7 separate regions of the Homo sapiens genome follow, and regions 1, 2, 3, 4, 6 and 7 are each linked to region 5. The links are contacts of gene promoters, found by promoter capture Hi-C in blood cells and fetal thymus (Javierre and others, 2016). All regions are on one chromosome and are shown on one strand. The core of a region is centred on a gene start or on the middle of the fragment in contact, and the rest is flanking DNA. Distances in the headings are between cores, read along the strand shown.

Evidence for each region. Contacts are between HindIII fragments. The CHiCAGO score rates a contact against its expected background, and 5 or more counts as called.
Region 1: the fragment with the promoter of TRIM33 here is called in contact with the fragment with the promoter of RHOC in region 5 in 5 of 17 cell types (total CD4 T cells, fetal thymus, non-activated CD4 T cells and 2 more); the score reaches 6.8 in total CD4 T cells.
Region 2: a contact is called between a fragment that was not itself captured here and the fragment with the promoter of RHOC in region 5, in 2 of 17 cell types (total B cells and total CD8 T cells). The highest score is 8.7, in total B cells.
Region 3: a fragment that was not itself captured here is called in contact with the fragment with the promoter of RHOC in region 5 in 1 of 17 cell types (neutrophils); the score reaches 5.2 in neutrophils.
Region 4: the fragment with the promoter of BCL2L15 here is called in contact with the fragment with the promoter of RHOC in region 5 in 1 of 17 cell types (activated CD4 T cells); the score reaches 5.1 in activated CD4 T cells.
Region 6: a fragment that was not itself captured here is called in contact with the fragment with the promoter of RHOC in region 5 in 6 of 17 cell types (total CD8 T cells, naive CD8 T cells, total CD4 T cells and 3 more); the score reaches 7.4 in total CD8 T cells.
Region 7: a contact is called between a fragment that was not itself captured here and the fragment with the promoter of RHOC in region 5, in 1 of 17 cell types (naive CD4 T cells). The highest score is 6.8, in naive CD4 T cells.

What each region holds. Positions count from the first base shown.
Region 1 is chr1:114,509,913-114,512,612 of GRCh38, forward strand. It overlaps TRIM33 (tripartite motif containing 33), which reads right to left and starts at 1,291. Exons shown (of 20, transcript NM_015906.4): 1 at 639-1,291. The coding sequence starts at 1,164. LOC124904348 (a long non-coding RNA gene) reads left to right here and starts at 1,426. Exons shown (of 2, transcript XR_007066452.1): 1 at 1,426-2,013. RefSeq lists silencers at 828-1,127, 1,158-1,267 and enhancers at 1,458-1,627, 2,488-2,700. The HindIII fragment of the contact is 2,747 bases long and covers 1-2,127 here.
Region 2 is chr1:113,806,662-113,809,361 of GRCh38, forward strand. All of the region lies in intron 1 of RSBN1 (round spermatid basic protein 1), which reads right to left. Among named protein-coding and RNA genes, the nearest start is that of RSBN1, 4.5 kb to the right of the region's middle. The HindIII fragment of the contact is 4,202 bases long and covers 1-2,700 here.
Region 3 is chr1:114,285,079-114,287,778 of GRCh38, forward strand. No RefSeq gene overlaps it. Among named protein-coding and RNA genes, the nearest start is that of SYT6, 130 kb to the left of the region's middle. The HindIII fragment of the contact is 3,020 bases long and covers 1-2,700 here.
Region 4 is chr1:113,886,330-113,889,029 of GRCh38, forward strand. BCL2L15 (BCL2 like 15) reads right to left here and starts at 1,252. Exons shown (of 4, transcript NM_001010922.3): 1 at 920-1,252; 2 at 208-329. The coding sequence starts at 1,046. All of the region lies in intron 3 of AP4B1-AS1 (AP4B1 antisense RNA 1), which reads left to right. The HindIII fragment of the contact is 1,067 bases long and covers 528-1,594 here.
Region 5 is chr1:112,705,779-112,708,478 of GRCh38, forward strand. RHOC (ras homolog family member C) reads right to left here and starts at 1,349. Exons shown (of 6, transcript NM_175744.5): 1 at 1,300-1,349. RefSeq lists a silencer at 1,069-1,788. The HindIII fragment of the contact is 12,151 bases long and covers 1-2,700 here.
Region 6 is chr1:113,781,836-113,784,535 of GRCh38, forward strand. The region is part of intron 2 of RSBN1 (round spermatid basic protein 1); the gene reads right to left. Among named protein-coding and RNA genes, the nearest start is that of PHTF1, 24 kb to the left of the region's middle. The HindIII fragment of the contact is 4,937 bases long and covers 1-2,700 here.
Region 7 is chr1:113,957,277-113,959,976 of GRCh38, forward strand. It overlaps HIPK1 (homeodomain interacting protein kinase 1), which reads left to right. Exons shown (of 16, transcript NM_198268.3): 7 at 1-10; 8 at 790-1,015. Among named protein-coding and RNA genes, the nearest start is that of OLFML3, 21 kb to the right of the region's middle. The HindIII fragment of the contact is 1,984 bases long and covers 445-2,428 here.

The DNA.
Region 1 (2,700 bases), core at 41-2,540, 1.8 Mb after region 5:
ATTTCCTTCAAAGTTCATTTCTCCTTCATCCCCAAACCTTAGGATTTTCCCTAACCATGCAGTCCACTTTCCGAGTTTCTCTTTCCCCATGTCATCTTACAATTTTCTTCCAGGCGCCTTCTCTGGACCCCTTGCTCTCCAACATATTCTCTCCACCTCCATTTAATCCATAGTCCTCCTCTCTCCTATCTGTGAACACGCCAAGTCCCCTCCCTCCAAAGCAATCCATCTTCACTGCCCTTACCTCTTACCTACTCCCTCAACACCTCGCTGGCCCGGGCCCTTTCAGCCAAAACGCTTCCTCACAACGTGTTTCCCAAATCCCCCTTCTCTCACTGTACGGGTCTGCCAGCTCCAGAACCAGCGCTCGGCCGGGTTCCGCACATCACAAACCCTCCCTCGGAGCCAGTGTCCCCTCCCCCAGCCTCTCGCAGCCGGCACCCCTCCCTTCATGCTCCCCTTATCTCTTGCGGTCCAGCTTCTCTGGAAAGTGTCCCAGGGGCGAGTCTTTCACCTTAGAGACCCCTCGGGATGGCGCCCGTCCGAGCAGCCCCAGGCCCCAGCACCTCCGTCCCCAGCTCCTCTAGGGTTGCGCAAATCCCTTGCGGCCCAGATGCCAGGCAGGGCCTCCGGCTCACCTTGCTGGATGTCGCCGTTGCTGCCCCCCGGGATGGGCACGCTGAGCTGGCGCTCCGGCTCGGGCAGGCAGCGCAGGCAGAAGGAGTGAAGACAGGGCAGCAGCTTGGGCTCCGCCTCACGCCGGCTCTGCAAGCTCTGCTGACACACGGCGCAGGTGTCCAGGAGCGAGGCTGGCGGTCCAGGAGGCGGCCCTGCCGAGGGACCCGGAGCGGGAGCCGAGGCTGGAGCTGGAGCCGGCGTCGATACTGCGCCCCCGGCAACTCCAGTGCCCACTGAGGCCGCAGGAGATGAAGCAGCCTGGGCCGAGCCCGAGGAGGCCGCGGCCACCCCCCCGTCGTCGGGCCCGGCCGCGCCGCCCTCAGCGCCGGCCCTGCCGCCTTCCTCCTCCTCCTCCTCCACCAGCACCGCGGTGAGAGGCGGCTCCGCCTCCTGCGCGGCGGGCCCGGCGGCCCCGGCAGTTACCGGCGCGCTGCCGCTGCCCCCGCCGCCGCTCTCAGCCTCGCCGCCGCCTTTGTTTTCCGCCATGTTTTCCTCTTTGAACCCGCCGGACCGCCCCGCGCCGCCCGCCGCCCGCGTCGCCGCCGCCGCCGCCCCCAGCCCCAGCCGCAGCCGCAGCAAGAGCGGCAGCCGAGAGCTAGCGAGAGAGCGAACCAACGAGAGCGCGCGCGCACGCGGCGCCCCCGCCCTCGCGTCGCGCGTTTGAAGGAGGGCGGTTGCGGCACGCGCACGTACGCACGGACGTCCTCCCGAGGGAGGCGGGAACTCGGTTCGCGGGCGCGGAGCGGTCCCGGACCCTCGAAGCCAGTTCCTTGCGTCAGTGCCGCGGCTCTTTAACCCGAAGGGAGATTTTTTTTTTAAAGCCAGAGGCCGTTGACGCTGGGTAGCCTTTGGCTGGGGTTGGTTATGAACTCCGACACAGCGGTGGTGCATACGGAAGGGTGGTAGCCGGGACGGTTCCGGTCCCTGCGAGCGTGTCCCGGGCGTCTCCGCGGAAGTTTCACCTGCCGCGCCGCTCGATCGCCGGGACCTCCTGGGTCTCTGCTGTGCGTAGACCAGCCGCGTTCCTTTGGGTGGCCGTGGAGCACTAAAGCGGGGCTTATTGTTTGTTTGGTTTTGGTTTTTTTTTTTGTTTTTTTTTTGCTTTTTGTTTTTGAACTGAGGATCTATCAGAAATAGGCTGAAAAGACCGAGTGAGGAAGAAACTCTTTAACAGCTATTTTTGGCATCTTAAGGTGATTCTCAGGAGTTGCTACGTATCAGAATCAACGGAGGAGTTTTTCAAAGCAGAGATGCCAGGGCCAGTCCCCAGACCTGAATCAGGAAGTGAGGGAGAGAGCCGACGGAGGGGGAAAAGTCCCTTCAGCTGATTCTTATGTATGTCAGTTTGGAGAGCCACGGATATAACCAATACTGCGTCCTTCTGAGGTCCCACTTTAAGTGTCCTGGGTTGAGCTGGGTGACAAATGCCCTTACAACAATGGTAGTAGAAGCTTTCAGGCCAAGCGCAGTGGCTCACGCCTGTAATCCCAGCACTTTGGGAGGCCGAGGCGGGCAGATCACTTGAGGTCAGGTCAGGAGTTCGTGGGCAGCCTGGCCAATATGGTGAAACCCCGTCTCTACTAAAAATATAAAAATTAGCCGGGTGTAATGGCGTGCGCCTGTAATCCGAGCTACTCAGGAGGCTGAGGCAGGAGAATGGCTTGAACCCGGCAGGAGGCGGAGGCTGCAGTGAGCCGAGATAGCGCCACTACACTCCAGCCTGGGCGACAGAGCGAAACTCCGTCTCAAAAAAAAAAGAAAAGCTTTCAGAAAGTTGCCTTTTTATTTGAAAAAAAAAAAAAGGTATTTGGAGGATTTTATGTAGTGCAACAACTGTTTTAGTGTTAAGATCATGAAATGCTTTGGTCTCCTGTTAGTGTTCCCAAGAAAGGTGCTGTAAGTCCTTAAACCACGTGAAAACTTTTTTTTTTTTTGAGACCTCCTCGTTCTGTCGCCCTGGCTGGAGTGCAGTGGCGTCATCACATTTCATTGCAGCCTCGACTTCCCAGGCTCAAGCCGTGC
Region 2 (2,700 bases), core at 162-2,661, 1.1 Mb after region 5:
TATCAACAAAATTTAAAATTTTTGCTCTGTGAAGTATCCCACTGAGAAGGTAGAAAGGACCAGGCACAGTGGCTCCTGTCTGTAATCCCAACACTTTGGTAGGCCAAGGCGGGAGGATCACTTAAGCCCAGGAGTTTGAGACCAGCCTGGACAACACAGAGAGACCCTGCCTCTATCAAAAAAAAAAAAAAAAAAAAAAACATTAGCCAGGTGTGGTGGTGCACACGTGTGGTCTCAGCTACTCAGGAGGTTGAGGTGGGAGGATCACTTGAGCCCCAGAGGTTGAGGCTAGAGTGAGCCATGATCACATCACTGTGCTGCAGCCTGGGTAACTGAGTGAGACCCTCCCCAAAAAAACAAAAACAAACAGGCTGGGCGTGGTGGCTCATGCCTGTAATCCCAGCACTTTGGGAGACCAAGGCGGGCGGATCACCTGAGGTCAGGAGTTCAAGACCAGCCTGACCAATATGGCGAAACCCCGTCTCTACTGAAAAACACAAAAATTAGCCGGGCATGGTGGCAGATGCCTGTAATCACAGCTACTCGGGAGGCTGACATAGGAGAATCGCCTGAACCCAAGAGGTGGAGGTTGCAGTGAGCCAGGATCGTGCTACTACACTCCAGCCTGGGTGACAAAGTGAGAATCCATCTCAAAAAAAAAAAAAAACAACCAAAATAAAAACAAGCAAACAAACAAAAAGGATGGAAAGACAAGCAACAGATTGGGAGAAAATATGTGCAAACCATACAAAGAAGCTGCACCTGTGATCTACAAAAAATTATCAAAACCCAGTAATAAAAAATATACAATTCAAGGGCCGGGCGCAGTGGCTCACGCCTGAAATCCCAGCACTTTGGGAGGCTGAGGCGGGTGGATCACCTGAGGTCAGGAGTTCGAGAACAGCCTGGCCAACACAGTGAAACCCCGTCTCTACTAAAAATATAAAAAAGTAGCTGGGTGTGGTGGCAGGCACCTGTAATCCCAGCGATTCGGGAGGCTGAGGCAGGAGAATCGCTTGAACCCGGGAGGCAGAGGTTGCAGTGAGCCGAGATTGCACCATTGCTCTCCAGCCTGGGCAACAAGAGTGAAATTCTGTCTCAAAAAAAAAAATTATATATATATATATATGTATATGTATACACACACACACACACACACACACACAAAATTCAATTAGAAAATAGGCAAAAGGTATAAAGAGACATTTTACTGACCAGGATATATAGACAGCAAATGATGATATGAAAAGATGTGTATTATCACTAGCCATTTGGGAAATGCAAATTAAGATCATGATGATGTATCACCACACGTCTATTAAAATTGCTAAAATAAAAATAGTGACAATACCAGATACTGGCAAGAATGTGGAGAAAATGGATTTCTCTTACACCGCTGACAGGAATGTAAAATGGTACCGACACTCCAGAAAATACTTTGGCAGTATCTTAAAAAACAAACAAACAAAATAAATATATATAGTCATCCTTGGTATCCATGGAGGATTGGTTCCAGAGCCTCCCAGGGCAACAAAATCCAAGATGATCAAGTCCTTCATATAAAATGGCATAATAATTGCTTATAACCTATGCACATCCTCCCCTATATTTTAAATCATCTCCAGATTATTTATACCTAATACAATGTACATGCTATATAAATAATTGTTATACTGTATTGTTTAGGGAACAGTGACAAGAAAAAAAAAGTCTGCACAAGTCCAGTACAGACAATGTTTTTTTGAAAATATTTTCAATCCCAGGTTGGCTGAATCCATTGATGTGGAACCCATGGATACAGAGGGCTAATTGTATTTACCATACGACCAAAGAAATGAAAAGTTACATGCACACAAAAACCTGAACACCAATTTTCATAGAAGCTCTATCTATAATAGCCAAAAACTAGAAATAATCAAAATGTCCTTTCTTATACGGGAATGATTCAATAGGTGAACCATGGTACATCCATACCATGGAACACTATTCGGCAATGAAAAAGAGGGATGGATCTCAGGGACATCACACTGAGTGAAAAAGGGCAATCTCCAAAGATCACATACTGTATGATTCAACTTATATAATAGTCTCAAAATGACAAAACAGGTTAGTGGCTGCCAGAGGACAGGGACAGTAGAGAGACAGAGGGAGTGCCTAAGGCTGTAAAGGGTTTGTGGTGGTGGAACAGTTCTGTATCTTGATTGTAGTGGTGGTTACACTAATCTACATATGATAAAATAGCATATAACTACATATACATTGTACCAATGTCAATTTCCTGGTGTTGATATTATACAATAGTTATGTAAGATGTAGCCACTGAGGGAAACTGGTAAAAGGTAAGGACTTGACTATGTTTGCAATTTCCTGTGAATCATTAATTATCTAAAAAAAAAAAACAGTTAAAATAGTTTCCAAAAATCTGAGGATAAGCGAAGGAAGGACATAGCTTTGTAAGTAACAAGAATCTGCCCACTCTCCTTATTAATCTTAGAGTTGTTTTAGGGACCATGCATAATAAAATAATAAAGGCCGGTTTTAAGTAAGTGCCTACAATGAGCCAGGCACTGCTGTAAGTACTTTCACACAATGCCCTATTTAATCCACACAAGTTCCTTATAAATGAAATACCACAACCCCATTTTATAGACAGGAAAAGTGCAGTTGAGAGAGGGTAAAGCAATTTGTTCAGGCTCACAC
Region 3 (2,700 bases), core at 155-2,654, 1.6 Mb after region 5:
TTGCAGGCTTATGGTAAAAGTTCCAAACAACAACTCCTTCATGCTGGTTCTGGTTTAATTACCAACATTTGGAACTAGAGGTGAAACTAGGTATTCTCCTTTAGAGGAGAATAGTGTATAGTGTTTGCTGGTCCAGAGATCTGAGATGGTGCAGCCAGTGGGAAGGAGGAATAGCATGGACTTTTGCAGTCAAGTTATTGACTTTGAAAAAGGTCTTAAATTTTCTGAACTTAGTTCTTTCATCCACAAAATTGTGTTATTGATATATACTTTACATCATTTTAATGAATACAGGAGATTATGTAAGATTATAAAATCCTAACTAGTGCATGGCACACAGTAGGCATTAAGCAAATGTTAATTCTTCTATCAATGTCTATTATGGCTATTAAGAAAAGGGGAGAGGGACAAGATATTGAGATCCCACTAAGTGCCAGGCACTCTCCTGAATCCTGTGCTTACATCATGTTCTCACAACTCGGTATTACTGTGCAAATACCCACTGCACAGATGAGGCCCACAACAGCTAAGTGACTTGCCCAAGATCACGGCAACATGTGACAGAGCTGGTGTTCGAGTCCAAATCTGTCTGCTCCCAAATCCCATTTCTATAAACTATATTTAAGTTGTTCTACTTAGAATAAATTGTATGAGGTCCCGTTATTTTCTGGAGGGAGAAGTGCCAACCCTCTAAGTAGGTGTGGTCAAAGTCCAATTTTACATTAGCCATGAAGTTCTCTCCCATTATTCAGCTGGGGACTGAATATAAGTAAATAATGCTTGATAATAACAGTAGCTCACATTTTTTGACAACTTACTATGTATCAGGCCAAGTGCATTAGACTATAGGATTCTCATTTCATTTTCAAGAAGTCCAAGAAGTGGGCATTATTATTATCCTCATTTTACAAATGAGAAAACGGACATACAATGAAGCTAAGTAACGTGTCCAAACAGCAGAGCCCGGTTTGAGCGACTCGCCACTGAACTACCCACCACCCTGGAAAGATGCATCTTGAGGCAAGGAGCTGGTAGCCAGCCATGCAGTTCTCCCTCTGAATTCCTCTAGGAACTAAGCAGCACCTGTTCACAAGGTCCCAGGGGTGCCCATTCTCAGAGGTCTGTTCTCACTCCTCACCTTCTGAGACCCAGAGGTGGTGGTGAAAGCCCCTAACCTGTGAGGAAGAGGCTCATCCCTAGGTTTGGCCTTACAAAGACAGCAAAGGGCCAGGTCATTGGGAGCCTCTGAACTTGGGGTCAAGGCAAGCAGCAGGCTCAGAGGCCAAGGAAGGGAGCCCAGCAGGGGAGGCTGCAGGAAAAAGAATTTGATTGAGGCAAGATTTATTCACATGCTCTAAAGGAACATTTCTTAAACTTTCTGCGACCATGACTCACCAAGCAACACTGTTACATGTGGAGTAGCTATGCAGATTTTCTTCCACCAAAAGAAAAATCATTGTCAGATTAAGAAAAGACACAAACAAAAATAATACATATGGGCGACAGGAAACTTTATAAGTTAAATTTCACAACATGAAGAAAAGATTTTATAAAACTACATTTCAGTATTTTCCACTATTGTACAGTATAAAATGGTTATTTGTTATAAAATATGATTTATTTTTGCAAAGGCTCACAGCACACAGGACAGCTTTTCAGAGAACATCAGCATTCTGATAGTGTTGTTTAAGAAATGCAGCTTGTAAGTGAATAAGCAACAAGCCCTTGATCTTAGGTCTATACACACTAGCCACCTGGTTCTGATGCAGGACAGGCAAGCCCCAAAATTGGGGCTTAGCCCAAGGTTTTTGGCCCCATCCAGGAAAGAATTCAAAGGTGAGCTGGTGGTGTTAAACAGCAGCTTTTATTGAAGCAGCAGTGTATAGCAGCAGCAGCGAAGCAGGACTACCCCACAGGCAGTGTGTCCAGAGTAGCAGCTCAGAGGCAGTTCTGCCATCATTTTCGTACCCACTTTCAATTATATGCAAAGTAAGAGGCAGTTTATGCAGAAATTTCTAGGATGAGGGTAGTAGCCTCTGTGGAGTTGTCACCACAGCAAGGGGTGATAACTTTCAGGTGTTGCCATGGCAATGGTAAGCTGACATGGCATACTGGTTTTCATGTCTTATGGAGAAGTGCTTCCACACTGCACCTGTTTTAGGTAGTCCTCAATTTGGTCCTGTGTCTGAGCCCCACCTCCAGAGTCTAGTCCCACCTGCTACCTCAGTTCTGCCCAAATGACAGTGAATATTAACTTAAAGGTCCGAGACTTGTTAAAGCAGTGCTAGGTCCCTAAAACAGAGGCCTTCAATTTTTTAAAAAATCATATAACCGTAGCAGCAAAAATGTTGAACATACACTCCAATATAGTGTATTTACTTATCTATATTATTATCTTATTATATTGATGCATTTCTATTATTAGCCAATGTCTCAAGGCTTCATATACACTTAGGATGAGGTTTATCACAAATGCCAATGGAAGTAAAGGCACTGTCCCCTTGATAACTTCTAAACTTGTTTTTGTCAACATCTTGTCTGATCTGATTAGATTGTTATGGTTTCTAACCTCATGATATGTCTGACAATGAGCTTCTTTTGAATTAGGGACAGTGCCATTTTCTTGTTGTTTATTTGCATTTGCATTGTGGGTGTTATCATCACACTCCTTTCTTTGTAGAGCTCTTCTTAAGCCACTCT
Region 4 (2,700 bases), core at 2-2,501, 1.2 Mb after region 5:
AGGTTCATCAGCCTATGCCCAAAATTTTCCATCTCTGTACCACTTAGGTTTTAGCAATTGGAGAATTCTTGCTATACTTCCTTGAAATATAAGCACCCAAATATTTTCATAGAACATTCCTAGTCACTGTAGTATGGGAGTAGTAAGAAAAGGAAGTTTGAAATAGAAAAAAAAGCAGCAAACAATAGCATGAAGTAGAAACTTGACCTGTCCCTTAATGGTTTCTGCAATGACGTTTTTGGCAGAAGCTTCCAATTCTCCGTTGAACTGGTCACCCAACATCCGAAGGCGACCAGCAATGATAGCCACATCAAAAGAACAAGGCTCTCCTATGACAGAGGGAACACATTTGTTACAATGCTTGAAGCAATGGCAAGTCCCAGGAATCTGGGCAATGAGAAAAATTTGTCTTGTCTTTTAAATAATTTTCATATCATGATCTCCCAAGAGCTTAAATGTTCTGTCAACACCAATAGTCAGAAAGTTTCCCTTCATTGAGAACCTCTTTCGCTTTAGGTGTTACTGAAAGCTTAGAGTTTGCCTTTTGAAACTTAAAGGAAATAAATAAAATATACTGTTTTTTTTTTTTTGAGACCGAGTCTCTGTCGCCCAGACTGGAGTGCAGTGGCGTGATCTCAGCTCACTGCAACCTCCGCCTCCCAGGTTCAAGCAATTCTCATGCCTCAGTCTCCCATGTAGCTGGGACTGCAGGCATGAGCCACCACACCTGGCTAATTTTTCTACTTTTAGTAGAGATGGGGTTTCACCACGTTGGCCAGGCGGATCTCAAACCCCTGACTTCAGGTGATCCACCCACCTTGGCCTCCCAAAGTGCTGGGATTACGGGAATCAGTCACTGCGCCCGGCTGAAAACATACTCTTATTGACCTGCAATCACCGCCTAGGGCAGGAACCTTACCTGAATCTACTTCATCTACACAGCATAGGTTCCGGCTGGCAACCTGCAATGTTGGGCTCAAGAAGTCCATGAGTAGAGTGTTCACAATGCATTCCGTTTGTTCCTCAAAAGTTTGGGAGCTCTTCATTTTAGATGTTTGCTGTCAAGTTTTGCTTTTCCACGAAACAAGCAGTTTTCAGCCCAGCAGGAAGTTAAAAACACTGGTAAATCAACAAATGTTTCTACCTCTTGTAGTTTCCTGACATGTAATCCTGGAACTTTTCCCACTAGCTTTCTTCAAACACAGCTGCTCAGAAAGGTGGGACTTCTCAGAAGGATTACCTACTTGGAACTGGGGAGACTTTAAAGACTTTAGGTTCTCTATCTCAGACCACACCCTAACCACATAAAATTAATGCTTAACTTTTATCGTTAGGTAGCCAACCTAGAACTGAAATAGAGTTCAGGAAGAGCCTCTGGAGTAATTTTATTAAGAAATACTTCCTCGACTTCTTAGGTCCTGCACATGGTATAATTTGAAGGAAGGTTTTGAAGTTACAGTGGACCAGCGTTCAACTTCTGTTTATGGAATTTATTTGCCATAATCATATAATAATTACTTACTGAACAAGGAACTATAGTTGGCACTACAAGTAACATAGAAAAATGATACAGGCACAGTTACTGTGCTCATGAAGCTTACACTTCAGCAGAAATGACAGATATTAAATGAGTAATCGCATTGTTATTTGTGCTATTGAGATCAGTGCACTTTGATCAGTGAAGTGTAACAGGGAATCAAGCCTTTGATCAGTTTAATAGGGAAACAAACCTAGGGGACTGGGAAGGCTTCCTTAAAATAGTACCATCTGACATGAGCTCTGAGGAATAAGTAGGCATTCATTATGCAAAAAGGAGGCATAACACTATTCTAGGCGGAGAGGTAGCAGATATAAAGTCTGGGAAGGTTAAAAAAAAACAACTTGGAATTATAAATGGGGACAACAGAAAATATTTCATAGATAAATTATGAGGATTAAATAAGATAACATGCGGAATGGCCTAGCACTGTTTGGCATACAATAAATGTTAAATGTCCTCCTTTTAGCCCAAGACATAATGACCAGGAGGAAAGAGATCTGAGATTCTCTGTCTAGCAAAAGGATTTTCCTAACAGGGTTGGACTCCATCATTGTTTTAAGAGATCTCATGATTGGACACTTATCTGTAGTGGTTGCCTTCTTAACGTAGCTAAACCTAGATTTTGGGTCTGGGTCTCAGAAGCAGCCATCAAACCTATCAGCAAACTTACCACTCAACCTGTCTGACCTGGTGAAGTTATTAATATTAACAGCTCCAACTAATAAAAGAGTCAAGCATAGGCCGGGCATGGTGGCTCATACCTGTAATCCCAGCACTTTTGGGAGGCTGAGGCGGGCAGATAACCGGAGGTCAGGAGTTCACGACCAGCCTGGCCAACATGGCAAAACCCATCTCTACTAAAAAATACAAAAATGAACTGGGCGTGGTGGTGCATGCCTGTAATCCCAGCTACTAAGGAGGCTGAGGCATGAGAATCGCTTGAACCTGGGAGGCGGAGGTTGCGATGAGTCGATATTACGCCACTGCACTCCAGCCTGGGTGACAGAGCAAGACTCTGTCTCCAAAAAAAAAAAAAACAAAAAAAGATTCAAGCATAAACAGTAAGTCAGTTGTTCAGAATGGAATTTCTATCTTGCAAAATATCAAAGCCAATCTTGTGTTTTCTGTTCCATTCTAAAACACATACAACCACTGCACAC
Region 5 (2,700 bases), core at 99-2,598:
AGTGTTGATGGAGGGCAATCACTACTGGGGTGAAAGCCAGTCACTTAGGCATGAGTATGCCACTGCTGTCCCCCCAGCAGGGTAATTCAGACGGCACCAGAGTGGTGGGAGGCAGAGGACAGAAACCCGGGGTTGAGGCATGCGTTAAGGGACCTGGAGCCTCCAGCCCAATTAGAAGACTTTCCCTCCAGGCTATGATTGGGCCAGAACAGCAGGCAGCCCAGGCCAGGACACTAGGCCCAAGGCCAAGATGGCATGGACAACTCCCTGTGAGAGGCAGCCCCAGAGGGACTGTCCCACTGACCCCTTAAGAGGGGCAACTGAGCCCCACACAGGGCCTGGAATGGAGCCTGGAACTTCTGGGGCCTTCCCCAAGACAAGACAGTGTGGCTACATCAGACCTCTCTCCAATCGCTCTCTTGAATTCCCAGATGATCCAGAGCGGCCGGTTGACTTTGCCGGCCCACCCTACACCTAGGGAAGGAATCCGTTCTGGAGATACCAAGAGATACTGCATTCTCAACTTTAAAACCAGAGTGAGGGCGGGACTCGGCCTCGGGATCCCAGTCCCAAACCCCAGGATACTCTTTCTTGGTTCGAGTATGAAGAAGGAGGATTCTCAATCTCATTTTCTCTCTCTCTCTCTCTCTCTACACACACACACACACACACACACACACACACACCACACACACACACACACACACACACACACACACACACACACACACACACACACACACACACACACACACACACAGAGTTGGATCCTTCCCCATCTCCCTTATCCTCAACACAAGCGGGCTCCAGGAACCGTCCAGGGCGGCGTCCAGACCCTGCCGAGCAGTGGCAGGCCCCAATGGTCACATCCCGCCCCTATTCCCGCCATACCTCCCTCCTGGCCTGGAGGAATTCCCACCCCATCCCACTCTAGGTCCCCTGCGGCCGCCCACCCTGGGGGCTGGGGCGTCTGAGTTGAAGTTCCCTCGCCCCTCGCCCGGCGGGGCAGGTTCCGGGAAGCTGGGAGGAGAAGGGAAGGGGCTCCGACTCGGACCTCAGGAGGCCAGAGCCCCTGCCGGCAGGTCCGGGCCCCCTCGCTGCAGCCCGGGGAGGGGCCGACGCGGTCCGACCACCGCCCAGCCCGGATGCCGACTCCGCTTGGAGGGAACGGGGTCCACGCCCAGGCCGAAGCCCCTCCTCGCACGGGCCCCGATCTCCGGGCCAGCGAGGAAGGGAAAGTGCTCTCCTGGGGACGAGTTCCCAAGACGCCCCACCGCCCGCAGCCCCGGCCCAGGGTACCTTCCGCTCCGCCGCCTCCAGCTGCGCGGCCGGTGCCGGAGGCTCAGACTGACCCCAGGGCCCCGCCCCGCCCTCCTCCAGCGCCGCGGCGGGGAGGGCGGGCCCGGCAGGGGGAGGGTCGGCCGGGGGCGGCCCTTGGCTCGGCCCGCCCCGGCCCCGCGCAGGGCCGCAGCCACCGGCCCCCTCCGCAGGCCGGGGACTGGGGGCCAGGGGCGTCCACCCCTCCAGGTCGGGGAGAGCCACGGGGAGATTCCTGGACTGCGGAGGAGCCGGGCGAGCGGGGGGAGCACGACCCGGGTGGACTCAGACTCTGCCCAGCCTTCAATCCCCTAGGGGAGGACCGGCGTCGGGAAAGTTAAGAGGTGCTCGGGGTGGGGTCAGGAAGGGCCGCTGCTGCCCTCCTGTGGCCAAGCGGCCACCCGCTCCTGCTGCACCTGGGACCTCGCGGGAAGCGGGACTGGGAAAGGGTATCCGCCGGGAGGTCCCAGGGCCCGGCGCGGGTGTGTTGGTTGGGGGGAGATGTCCACCCTCTTGTTCCTAGGATCGTACAGCCCAACGTCATCCCCCAAACTTGAAGACCTCTCAGAGCCGTTCAGACCCAGACCACCGTTCCTCCTCACAATTCGCTTTCTTCCCTGGGCCTGGAATTTCCAGGAGTCCAATTCCTACCTACTCCTCAAAGGGTGCGCCTAGAAATGCTTCTGGATCCCAGCTGTGAATTCTGTTCCCACTCCTAGGTCTGACTTGGCGCATAGGATATTTACCTACACGCGTATCTCCTTTCCCTGTAAGGGAGCTGAGGAGGTGGGAGTAGAATGAGGACGTCCACCAACATTTCATTGGCTTGTGCTTGGGACACTACACAGCTTAACCCTTTCAATATTCATCACAGATCTCTGGGGAAAATATACCCATCCCCTTTTGCCCATAGAGAAGCTGAGGTTCAGAGAAATCAAGTGGCTTACACAACTGTTTTTGACTTGTGACAGCAAGAATTCACACAGCCGGGCCTGTCTGGCTCCAAACTGGTGGTCTGGCCCTGCTACCTCACGGGCTCCTCCAGCCTGTCCCTTCCCCCGTTGTCTAGCAGAGTGAGTGGCACATAATAGGTTGTCAACAAATATTTGATGAATGAATGAATGTTAGGAGTCATACAGACTTTAAATATCTGAAGTGCAATCCAGACATTTGACAAATGTGAAAACAGGTCCGCAGCAGTTTGGCCCCAGGCCTCTTAACTGACTCAATGAACATTTCTCGAGGGTGAACTGAGAGCTATGTTCGGAAGATCCATTTCTGCCTTCAAACAACTTAGAGTCTAAATGAGGAATGCAATTTCAAGATAGCTAACATTTATTGAATCCATATTACATGGACCTGGGTCCACATACATTAACTACA
Region 6 (2,700 bases), core at 33-2,532, 1.1 Mb after region 5:
GCCTTAATTCAGGAAATTATCATTTCTCACCTAATTGTAAAACCTCTTAACCAGTATCCTTGCTTCAGGATTCCTATCCCCAAGAGCCATCCTACATACTGCTACAAATAATCTAGGAAAAAACATCTTATCATTCAACCTTCCCATTTTAAATCCTTTAGTAGCTCCATATTACCTGTAGCATCAAACTAGAAAATCCTTTTTAAGGAAGACAAAGCCCCTCCTGATCTATTATTCCAAGGGAATAACAGACCAAGATTTGCCACATTCTCCACATTTGCCACATTCTAAATATACATTTCGCAAATTCTAAATAATTTCTGCTGCCTCCACAAGTTTTCACATGTTATTGTCCACCTTTACAACTCCTATATTTCCTTGATGGTATAAAATGACTCAAAATAAGGTTTCAAGCTCAAAGAACGAAAGTACATAACATTTACAGATTTTAGGTAAGTTAGATTTGGAGTTATAACTAGATCAAAAAAGGTAAGGAATAGATGCATAGATTTGGAAATTGTCTATAACATATAATTTTTTAAGTGACTAAGACTTGAGAGAAAGAATAGAAAGAGACAGAACCAAGAACTGCACTTAAAGGAAAACAGATATTTGACAGACAGGAGGAAGAGTTAGCTAAAGAAATTGTGAAAGGATGAGTTAAGAAGTAATGCAATTAAAATGATGTAAGAATAACGTTTCAAAAATGGTCAAGGACAACTATTTTTTAAGAAAAACAAACTGGCTGTTATGAATAGTGCTGCAATAAACATGGAAATGCAGATCTTCAACATACTGATTAAATTTCCTTGAGTTGGACATATACCAAGAAGTGGAATTGCTTGGTCATGTGGTCGTTCTATTTTTAATTTTTTAAGGAACATCCACACTGTTGACCATAATGTCTGTACTAATTTAGATTGACATTAACTGTATAAAAGTTCTCCTTTTTCCATATCCTCACCAGCATTTATTTTTTGTCTTTTTGTTAACAGCCAGAACTGGGGTGAGGTGATATCTAATTGTAGTTCTGACTTCCATTTCCCTGATGATGAATTATGTTGAACATTTTTTCATATACCTGTTGTATGTCTTCAAATTTCAGAATGTCTATTTAGGTCTTTTGCCCACTTTTAAATCAGATTATTTCGTTGTTGTTGTTATTGGGTTGTTTGAATTATTTACATAAATTTTAGGCCACAGGGCAGAAAATACTATCTGGTCCTTAATAGAAAAAGTTTGCCAACCCCCAATTTAAACCACTCACAAAAGAAATCAAGCAATATGTTTGAATACAAACTTTGTGAAAGAGAACAATCTGTATTATTCAATATTATATATCTGTAATACAAAGTGCCTGGTATGTAGTCATAAATATTTGTTGAATTTCTGTATGTTAAGGCTAGAAATGAAGTAATCAACCACAAACTCTGGCAAAAAGAAAAAAAAGGGGTGGAGGGGGAGAAGAAGAACTGCTGATTACCAGTCTATCACTTGCATTTAAAAATTTAATAAATGCAAATGTTTGTGATACATTTAAATAATTAACAGCATAACAATGAACAGCAGTTATGACCACAAATTCAACATGCACCAACTTTCAACCTGAAAAGGCTGACAAGAAAAAAAAAAAGAGAGAAAAAAATAGATAAAACAAAAAAACATTCACCAACTGTAGGAAACTAATGCCAAACAAGCAAAGTATTCCTTCTTTTTAGTAAGAAAATTTCCTGGGCATATGGCCAATAAGCTAGGCTCCCTGACAGCTAAATGCGGCCTGTGCCTAAGTTTGGGCCAATGAGACAGTCACATAAGTTACATATGCAATCTTCAGGGCATACCTTTATAAGGAAGTGGCTTGCCCTCCACTTCCTTTTTCTCTTTTGAGGGCTGCAACACAGAGTGGTAAAGAGCTAGTCTCAATCATGCACATGACAACACCAGTAGGAACGACAAAAATTAAAGACAGAAGGAAACTAGCATCCTGGATGACAACAAGGAACAGAGTTGCTTACCTCGGGACTGCTAAACAAGAGACAAACTTTTGTTCTAGCCACTGCACATTGGTCCTCATTGTTATGGTTTTTTAGCCTATACCTTGTATACTTTGTAATGAGGGAGGCAATATTCTGCATTGCACAGAGATATCATCTGGGGTGTGATCTCCCGATCTGGCCTAAAAAATATCTATAACTAGGGCACACCCAAAATAGAACATTTAAAGTGATTAGGGACTTGCAAACCATACAAAATGGAGGAAGAATGCAAGAAATCAAAAGTATTTCAAAAGTATTTAACTTGAAAAGATTAAAGGAGGGACACAACAGTCTTCAAATACTTGGAGGCCTGTAACATGAGTTACAGGAAAGCAGGTGTCATTCATTTACCACAAGTTTATTGTACAGTCATGTGTCACCTAATGACAGAAATACATTCTGAGAAATGTCATTAGGCAATTTGTGGTTGAGAACATCACAGCTTGTACTTACACAAATCTAAGTGGTATAGCCTACTACACACCTAGGCTATATGACATAGCCTATTGCTCCTAGGCTACAAAACTTACAGCATGTTATTGTACTGAATACTGTAGTCCAGTGGTCCCCAATCTTTTTGGCATGAGGGACTGGTTTTGTGGAAGACAATTTTTCCACGGAAAAGGGCAGGGGGTTGGCAGGCATGGTTCTGGATGAAACTGAC
Region 7 (2,700 bases), core at 187-2,686, 1.3 Mb after region 5:
GCACAATCAGGTATTCAATAAATAATTTTGGAAACTCAAGCTTAAGTGGGATAGAAACTAGTAAGAATACAGGGCAAGGTAAAGAACCAATTTTTGTTTTGGTGGTCTTGTTGCTTCTTAGAAATTCTCCACTTGACAAAAGTTGATGGAAAACAGGGTAGACTGATAATACTTACCAGGCACAGGCTAACTAAAGTTAAATATAAAGGCCTAATCCATGCCCTCATATGTTCAGCATCGTCAAATAAATGGGGTCTGACTATTATGCTACTTACTGCTGTTAGTTTTACTGACTTTAGCCAAATGACTTTCTCCCTGTTAGGAGAAGGATTTTATATCTCTTGTTACTGTATTGAAAGGTTTCCAGTCATTAACTTTAAGGGTGGTTTTGCATTTGTTTGCTAGCCAGTGATATTTGCATTTAGGTTTATTTCTGAAGATGTAAGCTTCCCAGTTTCTTGGCTGGGTCTACTTTTTTAATGGAAGAGCCTATGAGATTTGGTGGGATCTTCCATCCAGTAATTTTTTGTGCAGAAGTAGTTGGGGTTTGTGTAGCCACAGCCAACATAGGACCATTCGTTTTTTTTTTTTTATTTGCTTATTTGACCATATAATATGCCTTCAATTTAGGGACTAGGGAAGTTTCTTAAGCAGAGAGTTATTTCAGAGGCAGTTAACATTACATTTTAAAACATTATTCTACGTTTTTCTGGATAAATTCTGTATATATAAAATTATTGTGTGTCTCTACTTAATACAAGTGTACAAATATAATCCTTTTGTTTTTAGGCCAGTGTTCTAGCTTCCAGTTCTACTGCAGCAGCTGCTACTCTTTCTCTGGCTAATTCAGATGTCTCACTACTAAACTACCAGTCAGCTTTGTACCCATCATCTGCTGCACCAGTTCCTGGAGTTGCCCAGCAGGGTGTTTCCTTGCAGCCTGGAACCACCCAGATTTGCACTCAGACAGATCCATTCCAACAGACATTTATAGTATGTCCACCTGCGTTTCAAAGTAAGTGGGGAAACTCCTGTATCATATGGTATTGTATCAGACCTACCTGCTTTAGGCAGCTCTAGTTGTTTAGTTCTGATCTTTACAAGTTTAAACTCTGTCTCTGATGAAGAAGGTAACTAAAATTGGGTAATATCACAAAATGGATTTTCTCTTTTTACATAGGCTATTTATCTAATTATGATGCTATCTGATGCATTGTAAGAGCTCACTTTATGTTTCCTTAATTGAATTGCCTGATACCAGTTTTCTTGCCCATTGAGTCCTTGTGTCAATGTCGTACGTCTTGTATAAGCATGTATCTGTCAATATGCAAAATCTATACAACTTGAAAAAATTTGTTGTAAGCAGAATTGCTAAATATTGGATCTTATTGCCTATATCATTCTATTATAAAAATTATGTTCCCAATAAAAAGTGATTTTATTCTAAAATGTAAAAATCATGTTTAAGAATGTGGAAACATCTTAAATTACTTAAGGAAAGAAAAATCATTATTTATTGAACTAAAAAATCCTACAGGCTGAGGTGCTTGTGTGGGGCAGGCATTAAGATTATCTTCTTCAGCTTATGAATCATATAGTTCCTGCAAACTCCTGTCAACAGAGGAACAGAATAGCTGAAGGAGGAGGCGGAGTCCCTGTGTTGCAATAAGATTTTAATTTTCACATTCCCATCCTTCTTAATTTTCACATTGTTGTTCTGTAATCTAGTCTGTCCAGTTTCTTTTTTCTGTATATGGGAAATGTGTGTTTAATCATTTGGTAAGCCATTTAGAAGAATGTTACTTTAAGGCTAAAATCTAATGACACATTTGACTTTCCCAAGAGAAGGTCAGTGTCAGTACCCTGTGAGAATAAACCAGGATTCAGGTATTTCATATAACACTTTACATAGAAGCAGGTAGCATTTTTGCCTTTTTACATCAATTACTTATTGACCGTGACTCTCTTGTTTGTTTGGTTTCTGATAGAGTCGGAGCAAGCAGAAGGAAAAGAGGGGCTAGGGGGGTCAGAGAGATTACCAGGAGGACAGGAGAGCAATAGCGATATAAACCAGGGAGAAACCACAGGGAGAGCAGAGGGACAGATTCAAAATCCGTAAATGCACGTTTAGCCTAACTTACCAAATTATTTTCTGCATATGCTTCATAATAGTAAATTCTGTAGTTGGGATTGTCGTATGTTGAGTGATTCTTCCACAGAGCTTAGCAGATTAGCCACTTTTTTCACCACTTTTTCCGAAGAGTTTCATTGGAACAGTTTTCAGATGTGGGACCCTGAAGTTTTCTGCTGCTTCTCAGATGATACAAGATGAAGCAGAAGAACTTTTGAGTTCCTTTAACAAAACAAAATGTAAACTAATGAAGTTAGAGGGGAAAAGTGGGATAACCCTTTTTAGTATAATTAGGTAAGCTTTGAAATTTTTCCTATCTAGGAAGTATAAATAACCTGAGGAGTTATTAGAGCATACTTAAAATTTTCCAAATGAAAAAGGAGTTTTAAAATTAAGGTGATGATGATGATGCCTGATATGTATTACTATATGCCAGATAATGTTCCAAGTGCTTTTACATGTATTAATTTATCTTCACTAACAATTCTAGGAGGTAGGGTAATGTCATTATCCCCAATTTATAGATGAGAATTTTGAGCATGGTTCCTTCATATGCCCAAAGTCCTATA